3 separate regions of the Homo sapiens genome follow, and all the other regions are linked to region 1. Evidence: promoter capture Hi-C in human tissues and cell types (Jung and others, 2019). All regions are on one chromosome and are shown on one strand. Each heading gives the region's core, a stretch centred on a gene start or on the middle of the fragment in contact. The rest is flanking DNA. Distances are from core to core; before and after follow the strand shown. Region 1 holds the start of ISM1 (isthmin 1). Region 2 overlaps TASP1 (taspase 1). Region 3 has its middle 27 kb from the start of TASP1.

What was found. Contacts are between HindIII fragments. The study calls those that stand out against the background at their distance.
Region 2: a contact is called between a fragment that was not itself captured here and the fragment with the promoter of ISM1 in region 1, in 1 of the 25 tissues and cell types used here (small bowel).
Region 3: a contact is called between a fragment that was not itself captured here and the fragment with the promoter of ISM1 in region 1, in 1 of the 25 tissues and cell types used here (dorsolateral prefrontal cortex).

What each region holds. Positions count from the first base shown.
Region 1 is chr20:13,219,599-13,223,990 of GRCh38, forward strand. ISM1 (isthmin 1) reads left to right here and starts at 1,676. Exons shown (of 6, transcript NM_080826.2): 1 at 1,676-2,316. The coding sequence starts at 2,179. It also overlaps a transcript of TASP1 not described here. RefSeq lists silencers at 1,459-1,578, 2,038-2,107. The HindIII fragment of the contact is 10,397 bases long and covers 1-4,392 here.
Region 2 is chr20:13,584,160-13,588,007 of GRCh38, forward strand. TASP1 (taspase 1) reads right to left here. Exons shown (of 14, transcript NM_017714.3): 5 at 3,091-3,211. Among named protein-coding and RNA genes, the nearest start is that of TASP1, 53 kb to the right of the region's middle. The HindIII fragment of the contact is 5,249 bases long and covers 1-3,848 here.
Region 3 is chr20:13,664,423-13,668,208 of GRCh38, forward strand. No RefSeq gene overlaps it. Among named protein-coding and RNA genes, the nearest start is that of TASP1, 27 kb to the left of the region's middle. The HindIII fragment of the contact is 7,451 bases long and covers 1-3,786 here.

The DNA.
Region 1 (4,392 bases), core at 426-2,925:
CAAAAAAAAATAATGAAAAGGAAAAAATATAGCAGACTCTATAAACAGCTGCCAATTTATTAATAAGATGCTGGAGTTAGTTAGAATTTTAAAGATGCTTCAGGCATCTTTAAGGAGGCAGCAAGCCCTTCCTCTCCCGGGCACAAATAAGCCCAACCAGCAGACCCTACCTTAACTACCGCTATTTAAATTCTGCAAAGTACCGCGGTGACCGGAGGAACCTTCGCAAAGGCGCAAGGGTTTGCCTTAATTTGGTTAATACTTGGTTGAGATGCCTTGCGAGAACTCGAAAGCAGTTGAATTAAGAATCTTAAATCTTTCTAGGACGCGGAGAAGGAAGGTAGGAAATTGGGGAGGGGGAAAGGGAGGCGTGCCGTCAAGAAAGAGTTGATTATTTATTTAATTTCATTCACCAAGGGAGAATTCGGAGGCTCCATCCCGGAGGCACTGGGGTCCGGGACGCGGGAAAGGCTTGGAAATGTGCGACGCGGCTGTGTGCGAACGCGTGGACTAGGTCTTGGCTCGCTGGGAGGGAAGGGCTGGGCCGGCGCTGGGGAGGAGGAAGGGAGGGAACGGGTAGGAGGAGGGGAAGCGCAGTATAAAAGTCCCGGCCGGACTGAGCGTCCGCTACTCCGAGTCACTTCGGTAAGGCGGGAGCCCGAGCAAGGTCAAGGAGGGAAGTGCGCGGTGCCACGGACCGACACAGTTCGCTCTAGCATCTGACGCTCGGACTCCGCGCCCTCAGCCGGATCCCAGAGCCCTTCCATTCGCCAACCGCCCACTGCAAGGCATGAGCCGCACGCGGGAGCCCGAGGCTGCAGCGCGGTCATGAGGCGGTGGCCCGGGATCGACAGCTGCGCGACGCCAGCCCCCAAATCCCCTCTGGGCGCGGCACCCCCGGGATGAGCCCCCCACAGAGGCAAGCCCACTAGAGCTGAGATTCACTCCGAGTTCCTGAGCGCCTGAGCCGCGGGCACTGCGTCTCTGCAGCTTCCAGCCAACACCTGCGCCCGTGACCAGACGAACGCCTAGAGAGTCGGACTCCCCTCCCTTCCCAGGCTCTACGGGGCGCCGCGGATCCGCGAACAGCCGTGCCCGGCTAGCGGGCGGCCCAGCAAGTGTCAAGACCCTTCGGAACGACACTTTGGCACTCCTCCTCTCCCCCGACTGCTTCAGGCAGGGGTCGCAGGCAGACGCATGGCTTGTCCGGCGCCCCCTCCGTTTTCCATCACTGCAACTCCAGCTCCAGTTTGCCAATAAAGGTTTCTAAAGCAGCCCAGGCACCACCCCACCCACCCACAGCCCCGAGCCTCAGTGTGCACAAGGGCTCTACCCGCGCCCGTCACAGCGACCTCGGCAGCGGGCACTTGGTACAGCCCGGCAGGCTGACGCTGCCGCCGAGGGCGCCCCGGCTACCGCCAAACCGTGACAACCTCGGTGTGCCCGGGGCCCCCATCTGGAACCGGCCCTCCCCGGGACTCCGAGTGCGGGGCGGCGCGGCAGGCGGCCCCGAGGAGCGCGGAGAGTAGTGGAGGTGGCTTGCCGGGTGAGTGGCTCGGGGCGGCGAGGGCGGGGGCGCCAAGCGTGGAGGTAACTCCCGGCCGCAGCTGAAGCCCTCCTACTCCTCCTCCTCCTCCTCCTCCTCCTCCTCCTCCTCCTCCTCCTTCTCCTTCTCCTCCTCCTCCTCCCCGCGCTTCTCTGGCGGCCGCTCCCGCTCCAGCTGCGGCGCCGCGGCCACATCTGGGGCGCCCATGTGCGCTCGGGGGCTCGGCTGCGCCCGCCCCGCCGCCGACCCCGCAGCCCCCTGCCAGCAGGGTGGCCTCCGGCCCGGCCCGGGTCCCGGGCTGTCCCGGGACCCAGTCTCCGTCTCCGCCGCCGCCGCCGCCAGGCAGCGCCGGGGCTTGCTCCGCAGCCGGCTTGGACACCCCCGGCCTCGCGGTGGCTCCGCCGTGGTGCGGCGGCGGCGGCGGCGGCGGCGCCGGCAGCTCCTGCTCCCCCGGCCCCGCACACCCCGCCGCGCCCAGCGCCAGCCCCGCGGGCCCGGGAAGCGGAGCCCTGGCGGGAGCCGAGGCGGGAGCCGCGCTGCCGGGCTCCCGGGCTCCTACTCCTCCTCCCCCGGCGTCACCGCCGCCGCCGCCGGCCGCCGCGCCGGGTCCTAAAGCCGCGCGTCTCAAAAGGATGGTGCGCCTGGCGGCCGAGCTGCTGCTGCTGCTGGGGCTGCTGCTGCTCACGCTGCACATCACCGTGCTGCGCGGCTCGGGAGCCGCCGACGGGCCCGACGCGGCCGCGGGCAACGCCAGCCAAGCCCAGCTGCAGGTGAGTGCGCCGCCGGAGAGGGCCGTGCGCGGCTGCGGGGACGGTTTGTGGGGCGGGGGTGCTGAGCTAGTGCCGGGTGGATGCAGGGAGGCAGGTCCCCTGCCCCACCTAAGAGCAACTGTTTTGGCAGTAGTTTTGCCCGGGCCACTTGACTTAGGCAGAGGCGGAGCGGGGGCACGTGCCTGGAGGCTGCACCCGGCTTCCAGGTCTGCGGGCTGCGCTCCTTCAGTTCTGTCTGTCACGGGTCAGGTGCGGGGTTGGTGGGGAGGTGGGAAGGAGCGAGGTTTGGGATGAGCAGAGGAAGTGTGGAGAATGTGCTTGCTTGGGGGTGCTACCAGTCTTTCGTTGCCCTTCGGAGGCTGAGTAATGTTACTCGAGGCTGGAGGGACGCAAGGAGACTTTATAGGATGATATCCCTGAAGTCTTTGGGAGAAAGAACTCCGGGAGTCTACCCCTTTAGGAAGCAATGCCAAAGGTCAGGACATAATTTCCCAAGGAGAATAGCCAGGCATCCCCTCCTCACCCTCAGGGTTCCCTTGCTTCCAGTGTTCCTCTTCCTCCGGGAGCCTCGCCTGAGGTTCCCCCCTCCCCCCTTGTGCCCCCTTGGTCATGGGGAAGGTGCAGAGTGAAGGCACCGGTAGTGATTTGGGCCAGGGTTACCTGGGGCTTTTAAACTTGTAGCAAAGTCTTTCTCCCAAGGATCTTCCCCGTTGAAGGTCGCTTTAGCAATGGGATTCTGTTTATCCATTTCAACTTCAGGGCAAGGAGAGGGCGTAGTGGACGGTCAGACATAATGTGAGTTCTGACTTAGGAATAGAATTGCCCAGCTAGGCATTTCCTGCCGCTATGTTAGCGCCTTTCCTTGAGTCTAGGGGTGGGACAACTGTAAACTTGGAGCATAGGCAAAAGCAAGCAGGGATTTTCCCAGGAGGCAGAGGGGATTCTCTGGCTCCTAAAATCTGCTCAAACCAGGCGCGGTGGCTCACGCCTGTGATCCCAGCACTTTAGCAGGCAGAGGCGGGTGGATCACCTCAGGCCAGGTGTTGGAGACTATCCTGGCCGACATGGTGAAACCCCGTCTCTACTAAAAATACAAAAATTAGCTGGGCGTGGTGGCGCACGCCTGTAGTCCCAGTTACTCGGGAGGCTGAGGCAGGAGAATTGCTTGAACCCGGGAGGTTGTAGTGAGCTGAGATCGCGCCACTGCACTCCAGCCTGGGCGACAGAGCGAGACTCCGTCTCAAAAAAAAAATAAAATAAAATAAAATAAAATAAAATAAATAAATAAATAAATAAAATGAAATAAGCATTATTCATTGTTCCCAAAGGCCTTTATATTCATTGTCTTTGATAATTCACTTTTTACATCTTTATACAATTTATTGCGAAAAACTTTACCGTAAAGAGAAAACTAATAAAACACTTCCATTGTGTTTACTACGTGCCACCGTTTTAAGTACTTTACAGAATTTAACTCACTTAATTTAACCATAATCTTACAAGACATGGTACTGTTAATATAGCCTCATTTACAGATGCAAAAACTGAGGTACAGAGAGGTTAAAAAACTTGTCAAAGTTCAGACATTCCAAACTCTTGATTACACCAAATTTTGTCTCTACCAGGATAGACTAAAGCAAGGTGATTATTGCACGCAATTACAAAACAGTAGAAAAGTACACACCCCAAAGCTTAAAGTTGTTTTAACTTTGAGACATTTCTAAAAATGTCCTAACTTTGTGGGTTCTCTCACCTTCTCCCGTGGGTAGATAAGTACAGTGACAGACTGAGGGAATTTCTATGCGGAAGTTGAAGATGCCACCATCCTATAGACTGGGGCACCCACCAATCTAACACTGCGGAGATAATTCTTAATATCTTCAAGATTTCTGGAAGTTATATTTTATACATGATGCTTTCTTTCCTCATGGACTCATGAAAAGCCATAAAAATGATGTTCTGTGGAAAAGTAAATTTGGCAGATTACTTTATGAGGTGTTTGCTATCATTAGAATAACCCGGGGTTGGCCTTTTCCGCTTGAACAGTAAGGTAATGAGAGAAGCAGCTGGTGGAAG
Region 2 (3,848 bases), core at 1,009-3,508, 370 kb after region 1:
ACTTATTGTTATTCAATTAACTATGTAGGAACAATTTGAAGTCATTTCAGAAAAAAATGCATTCAAGAGGTAAATGAAAAATAAACTATACATATGTTAGAAGAAAATACAAGTAAATTGTGCTTATAAATTATGAGAGACTTTAAGAAATACAAAATACAAAAGCCACAAAAGAGAAAGTAGTAAGTTTGACAAACAAAAATGTTTAATTCCAATATGATTAAGGACATTTATAAACAGGGTTAAAACGCAAGCCACACAAGAGGTATGAACAGGTAGTACACAGAGAAATGCTAATGGCCTTCAAACACACGAAATTTTATTAAATACCAATAAAACTGCATAATAAGAGAAACTAAAATTAAAACTAATTAAAAAGAAAGGATATAAAAGATCAGAACAAATAAATAACCAAATTGACCTAAGTGACACACACAGAGCACTGTACTCAACAACTCCAGAATACATATTCTTTTGAAGTTCACGTGGAAATTTACCAAAACACACCATAATCTGGGCCATACAGCAAGTCTCTAAAAGCTTCAAGGGATTGGTATCATACATAGTATATTCTCTGGCCACAGTGGAATTAAACTAGAAATCAACAAAGAAAGCTAACTAAAATGTCTTCAGGCAAATAAATTTGACAACTCATATGAAATAGACAAATTCCTAGAAAAACGCACATGAAAAATAAAATATAATCATATAAATGTTAAAAATATTGAATCCTACTTTTTAAAACTTCCCACAAAGAAAACCCCGTTAATTTGAAATAATTTATGAATTCCTTCAAACAATTAAAAAGTAATTATTCCAATCATATACAAACCTTTTCAAAGAATGGGGGAAAAAAAAGTACCCAACTCATTTTTGAAAGCAGCCATAACAGGGTACAGAAACAAATTATCACACAGTCACCTAATTTCCCAACACAATTCTGTGAGGAAAAGACTTCCTTTCAATAGAGGGCAATGGACCATTTGGATATCCATATGAGGAAAAAATAAATAAATGTTGACCCCTATGTTACATATACAAAAATTAATCTGAGCTTGATAAGAAAGCTAAACATGATGGATAAAAACAATAAAATTACAGAAAGAATGAAGATTATCTTCATAACTTTGAACAGGCAAAAACTTAAAATACAAAGAGTTAATCACAAAAGAAAAGGTTGCTAACTTAAACTTCATTAAAATCAGAAACTTCTATTCATCAAAAAACACCATTAAGAGATTGTAAAGGCAAACCATAGACTGGGAGAAGATATCCATAATACATGTATCTTACAAAGGATTTGTATGTAAAATATTTAAAATACTCCAACAAATCAATAAAAGATATAATCAAATAAAAATCTGCAAAAGATGCAAATATGCACTTCTCAACAAGGCTATCTAAATGGTCAAAAAGCATATGAAAAGGCTCTTATAAGTCACTAGGGACACTCAAATTGAATACCACTACACACATAAATCACTAGGGACACTCAATAATACCACTACACACATATCAAAATGGCTGAATTTTAAAAACAATTAACAATACCAAAAATTGGCAAGGATGCAGAGTAACTGAAAAGCTCCTACACTGCTAGTAGGAGTATAAACTGCAACAATTACTTTTGAAAACCGGCAGTATCTATTAAAACAAAATATATATGCATATGTACCTAAAGAAGTACATACGTGGCCAGGCACAGTGGCTCACGCCTATAATCTCAGCACTTTGGGAGGCTGAAGCTGGCAGATCACTTGAGGTCAGGAGTTCAAGACCAGCCTGGCCAACATGGTGAAACCCTGTTTCTACTAAAAATGCAAAAATTAGCCAGGCACTGTGGTGGGTGCCTGTAATCCCAGCTACTTGGGAGGCTGAGGCAGAAGAATCAATTGAACCCAGGAGGCAGAGGTTGCAGTGAGCCGAGATCGCACCACTGCACTCCAGGCTGGGTAACAGAATGAGACTCCGCACCACTGCACTCCAGGCTGGGTAACAGAATGAGACTCCATCTCAAAAAAAAAAAAAAAAAAAAAACAGAAGTACATATGTCTACCAAAAGACATGTAAAATAATATTCACTGAAGCTTTACTCAAAAAAGTAAAAAGCTAGAAATTTCATATGCCCATTAAGAGGAGAGTAAATACAGAAGTTATGGTATATCCATTCAATGAAATACTACTAAGTGGTAAAAAATAAAATACTACTGACACAAAACATGGATCCATCTCACAGGCATAACATTAAGCAAAAGAAAACAGACACAGAAGTGTCTGATCCCACTCATGTAAATTTTAGGAACAGGCAAATTAATCTATGGCACCCAAAGTTAGCATGAGGGAAGAGAGCACAAGAAGTATGGACCAAGGAGAAGCATAAGGGGTCCTTCCAGGATTATGAAAATGTTCTACCTTTTGACATGGAAATGTTTAATGTCTTGATCTAGGTGGTGGCTTATATGGTGTCTACATCTAAAAATTCATGAAGCTGTACACATAAAATACATACTTCATGTATATTTTGCTTTAATAAATGAATTATAAAACATGAGACATATCTTTTATGTACTGATGTGGAAAAAATCTCCAAAAGATTATATTTAAATCTAAAAAGTTTATAATAATTAACACATTTATTTTTTAAGAAAACAAATACAGGCACAAAATAAAACTGTGTTTCTGTTACATAAAAATATAGATAAAAGCACTGGATTTTTACTGGTTAAACCCCACGGGGAAAGGAAATGAGAAAGAAAAGATCTTTTGGAGGATCAAAGGTAAATTTTATTTATATTACCTGAAATTTTTTACAACAAAAAATATAGTGTGTATTTCAAATTGTAAAATTAATATTCTAAATCATGTCTTAAATGTCTTTAATCTCTTCAAGGGATACAGGAGAATGATCAAATTCAAACCAAAAACTACTTATAACTAAGACTGTATGTTTTAAATTCAATAAAAAAAGAACATTTGTTTTAAACACTATTCCAAGCAGAAATGGTGAAAAAGACTGTAATCATCTTTAGAAGGCATGAAATGGTCACGTGCATGATTTTCCAAAGATAGTAGGTCATAATGCCCACATACCACTCAGTGCTCCAACTGCTCCAAAATTTAAGGATTTTCCATCCATTATGCTGGCATCACACTCAATTTCACCTAACAGATTTAGATTAGATCCCATTCCTGCATTTGTAAAAGGAGAATCCTAAAAGACAAAAACAAAAATTAAAATATCATTAGTCTTAAAAAAAGTATTAATGTCAGTCCTTCATGAAATTTTCTAAAAGCTAGAAGGTGAGAGAATACTTTCCAACACATAGTATGATGCCAATACCACCCTGATGTTAAAACATGACAAAGATATCAGCAGCAAAGTACAGATCAATATACTTTGTAAATATTGACCAAAAAAACATCAAAGAAATAGCAGCAAAACAAATCCAGCAAAATATAAAAAGGACTGTATATCACAAACAAGAGGAAAGTAAGATTGGTTTAATATCTGAAAATCAATGTAATACCCTGTATTAATAAAATACAGGGAAAAAAACATGATTGTATCAAAAAAAAAACACAGAAAAAAGGCATCTGACAAAATCCAACACCCTTTCATGAGAAAAACAGAAAACTAGATAAGGGAACTTCTTAACTTGACAAAGGGGATCAATGAAAAGGCCAGGCCAGGCGCAGTGGCTCACACCTGTAATCCCAACACTTAGGGAGGCCAAGGTGGAAGGATCACTTGAGCCTAGCTGTTCAAGACCACTCTGGGCAACACAGTGAGACACCATCTATACAAAAAAATTTAAAACTTAGCCAGGTGTGGTGGTATGCATCTGTGG
Region 3 (3,786 bases), core at 1,253-3,752, 450 kb after region 1:
ACCATCACACCCAGCTCCGTTTATATTTTTGATGTTTATTTCACTAACTCTCAAGTCCTACAAATCATCAACTGTTCTCTCCCATAATATCTTTTCAGGGCCGGTTTTTATTTTGGCTAAGCTGAGTTTAGTTCATAAGATATGGATTAGTAATTTTCACCCTTCATAATAAGAAAGTTTATCAATTCTGAAATAATCTAGTTAGAGTAGAAAGAGTCTTATTCACAAAAGACACTATTATTACCTCCAATTTGCCAGAGAAAGACTCCAGACTTCTTCTTTCTTCCTTTTCTTTTCTCTCTTGTTTCTTTTTGGGTTTGTTGTTATGGATCCTCTAGCGTCAGCCTCCCAAGTAGCTGGGACTGCAGACACACGCCACTGTGCCCGGCTAAATTTTTAAAATTTTTTGTAGATACAGGGACTCCCTATATTGCCCAGGCTGGTCTTGAACTCCTGGCTTCAAGCCCTCCTCCCACCTTGACCCATCAAAGTGTTGGACTTACAGGCATGAGCCATTGTGCTTGGTATCTTGTTTCTCTCCTCTCTCTCTCTCTCTCTCTCTCTCTCTCTCTCTCTCTGGAACTATAGTCTCTAGGCAAAAAAAAAAAATGAAGGCATACCAGATTTCTTATGTTAAAAGATCTTGTCCCTTCTAGAAAGATATGCTAATGTAGATCTAAAGAAGAAAGATTTTTCCAAAATGATGGATTTAATTAACACTATTTCTTTCTTTCTTTTTTTTTTTTTTAAGACAGAGTTTTGCTCTTGTTGCCCAGGCTGGAGCGCAATGGCATGATCTCGGCTCACTGCAACCTCTGCCTCTCAGGTTCAAGTGATTCTCCTGCCTCAGCCTCCCAAGTAGCTGGGATTACAGGCACCAGCCAGCACGCCCGGCTAATTTTTGTATTTTTAGTAGAGATGGGGTTTCACCATGTTGGCCAGGCTGGTCTTGAACACCTAACTTCAGATGATCCACCAGCCTCGGCCTCCCAAAGTGCTGGGATTACAGGTGTGAGGCACTGCACCCGGCCAACACTCTTTCTTGATGTAAGTTGGTATCATTTCATAGAAATGATGAATCATTTTCAGGGAGAAAAAAAAGCTCTCTTAGCTCTAGAGATTTTTAGAACCTTCAAAATAAATGTAAAAGGCTTCTATGTTCATTTCAGATGAGCTGTTTGTACCAGTCAGGGCTCTTGATTGCAAACAACAGAAATGGATTGTGTTTAACTGAACTGGAAAAGAAATTAGTTGGCTGCTCACAGAATTGATGATATGGCTGGAAAATGGGCCACAACCAATGAAGGCTAGACTTGCAAAATTGTAATAAAAATCTTACCCCAGGAAGAGTCTGGTTATGCTGTCATTCCCACTGGATACTTCTTGCTACCACCAAATAAATGAATTCTAACTGTCCCCTCATGTCTGTATCATTTGTTCCAGATTCAAGGTTTTGGGAGAAGACAGCACCTGATTGGTTGAATCAGATCACATGACTGATATTGCTATTGGGAAGGGGAAGGGTCTGAGAGGACTTCCTCCCACCAAAATTTGCGCAATGGTAAATTTTAGAGGTAAAACTAAAAAACGTGTTCATTACTGGGAATATAAAGACAAGAGGCCAGCTATTGTTGAAATAATGCTGTATAACAAGCTAAATACATAAACAGATTTCAGTGGCTTGTAATGACACTTATTTTCCTCAATCATAGGTCTTCAGGCTGGCTGGGGAAGTTCTGCTTCAGGTTGTGAGTTGGCTGGGCTTGGCTCCAGATGGAAGATCCGGTTTACGACTGCTCCAAATGTCTTTCATTCTAGAAAGAGCAGCTACTAAGGGCACACTTATGAAGATGGCAAAAGCACGAGAGGCCACGCCAAACCACACAAGCACACTTACAACCTCTGCTCATATATCTGATGACATTCCGTTGTTTAAAGTGAATTACATGGCCAAGTTCAAAGACAAATGAGATAAGGTATACATTCTGTCTATTCTACTGGTTACTGTGGATTCAATTGCTCTTATTTTTGTAGTTTCCTAAAGTGGAAGCTTGGATGACTGATTTAAGATCCTTCTTTTCAAATATATTCATTTAATGATATAAATTTCCCTCCAAGTACTGCCTTCACTGCGTCCTGAAAACTTTTATAAGTTGTATTTTTGGCCAAGCGTGGTGGCTCATGCGTGTAATCCTAGCACTTTGGGAGGCCGAGGCGGGCGGATCACCTGAGGTCAGGAGTTCGAGACCAGCCTGATCAACATGGATAAACCCCATCTATACTAAAAATACAAAAATTAGCTGGACGTGGTGGCAGGTGCCTGTAATCCCAGATACTCGGGAGGCTGAGGCAGGAGAATCGCTTGAACCCAGGAGGCGGAGGTTGCAGTGAGCTGAGATTGTGCCACTGCACTCCAGCCTGGGTGACTCCATCTCAAAAGAAAAAAAAAAGTTGTATTTTAATTTAGTTCAAAATATTTTAAAATTTCTCTTGAGGATTCCTCTTTGACCTAAAAGTGTGTTATTAAATCTTCAAGTGTTCTTTTATTTTCCTTCGTTTTTTTTCTTTTTTCTTTTTCTTTCTTTTTTTTTCTTTTTTGAGACAGAGTCTTGTTCTGTTGCCCAGGGTGGAGTGCAGTGGCATGATCTCAGCTCACTGCAACCTCTGCCTCCCAGGTTCAAGAGATTCTCCTGCCTCAGCCTCCCGAGTAGCTGAGACTACAGGTGCATGCCACCATGCCTGACTAATTTTTGTATTTTTAGTAGAGACGGTGTTTCACCATGTTGGCCAGGCTGGTCTCAAACTCCTGACCTCAAGTGATCCACTCACCTCGGCCTCCCAAAGTGCTGGGATTACAGGCGTCAGCCACCGTGCCTGAACTTTCCTGTGTTTTTTCAAGTGTTTTTTATATTTTTATGTTTCTGTGTTTTTTTTTAATTTCTGTTTTAATTTCATTGTAGTTTGAGAATAAACATTGCATAATTTATTTTTTTTTACATTTTTTAATGTAAGTTTTATGGCCCAGAATGTGGTTTATCTTGGTGAATGCTCCATTTGAACCTGTAAAAAAATATGTAATCTACAATTGTTGGATAAATTAACCTATAGAGGTCAACTATATCCAGTTCATTGATGGTGCTGTTCAGTTCAACTAAGTCCTTATTGATTTTCTGCCTGTTGAATCTGTTTATTTATGATGGAGGGATGTTGGAGCCTCCAACTGTAATAGTGGATTCATCTATTTCCTTGCTGTTCTATCAGTTTTTGCCTCACATATTTTGATGCTCTGTTATTAGGTTCATACACATTAAGGACTGGTTTGTCTTCTTGGTGTATTCACCTTTTATCATTGTGTAGTACCCCTCTTTATCTTTGATAACTTTCCTTGCTCTGAAATCTGCTCTGTCTGAAATTAATATAGTTATTCCCACTTTTTTTTTTTTTTAGATGGAGTCTTGCTCTGTCGCCAGGCTGGAGTGCAGTGGCATGATCTTGACTCACCGCAACCTCCGCCTTCCGGGTTCAAGTGATTTTCCTGCCTCGGCCTCCCAAGTAGCTGGGACTACAGACGTCCAGCCACCATGCCCAGCTAATTTTTGTAATTTTAGTAGAGCAAGGTTTCACCATGTTGGCCTCCATCTCTTGACCGTGTGATCCACCCACCTCGGCCTCCCAAAGTGCTGGGATTACAGGTGTGAGCCACTGCATCTGGCCTATTCCCATTTTTTATGATTAATGCTAGCATAGCATATCTTTTTCCATCTCTTTACTTTTAATCTATATGTG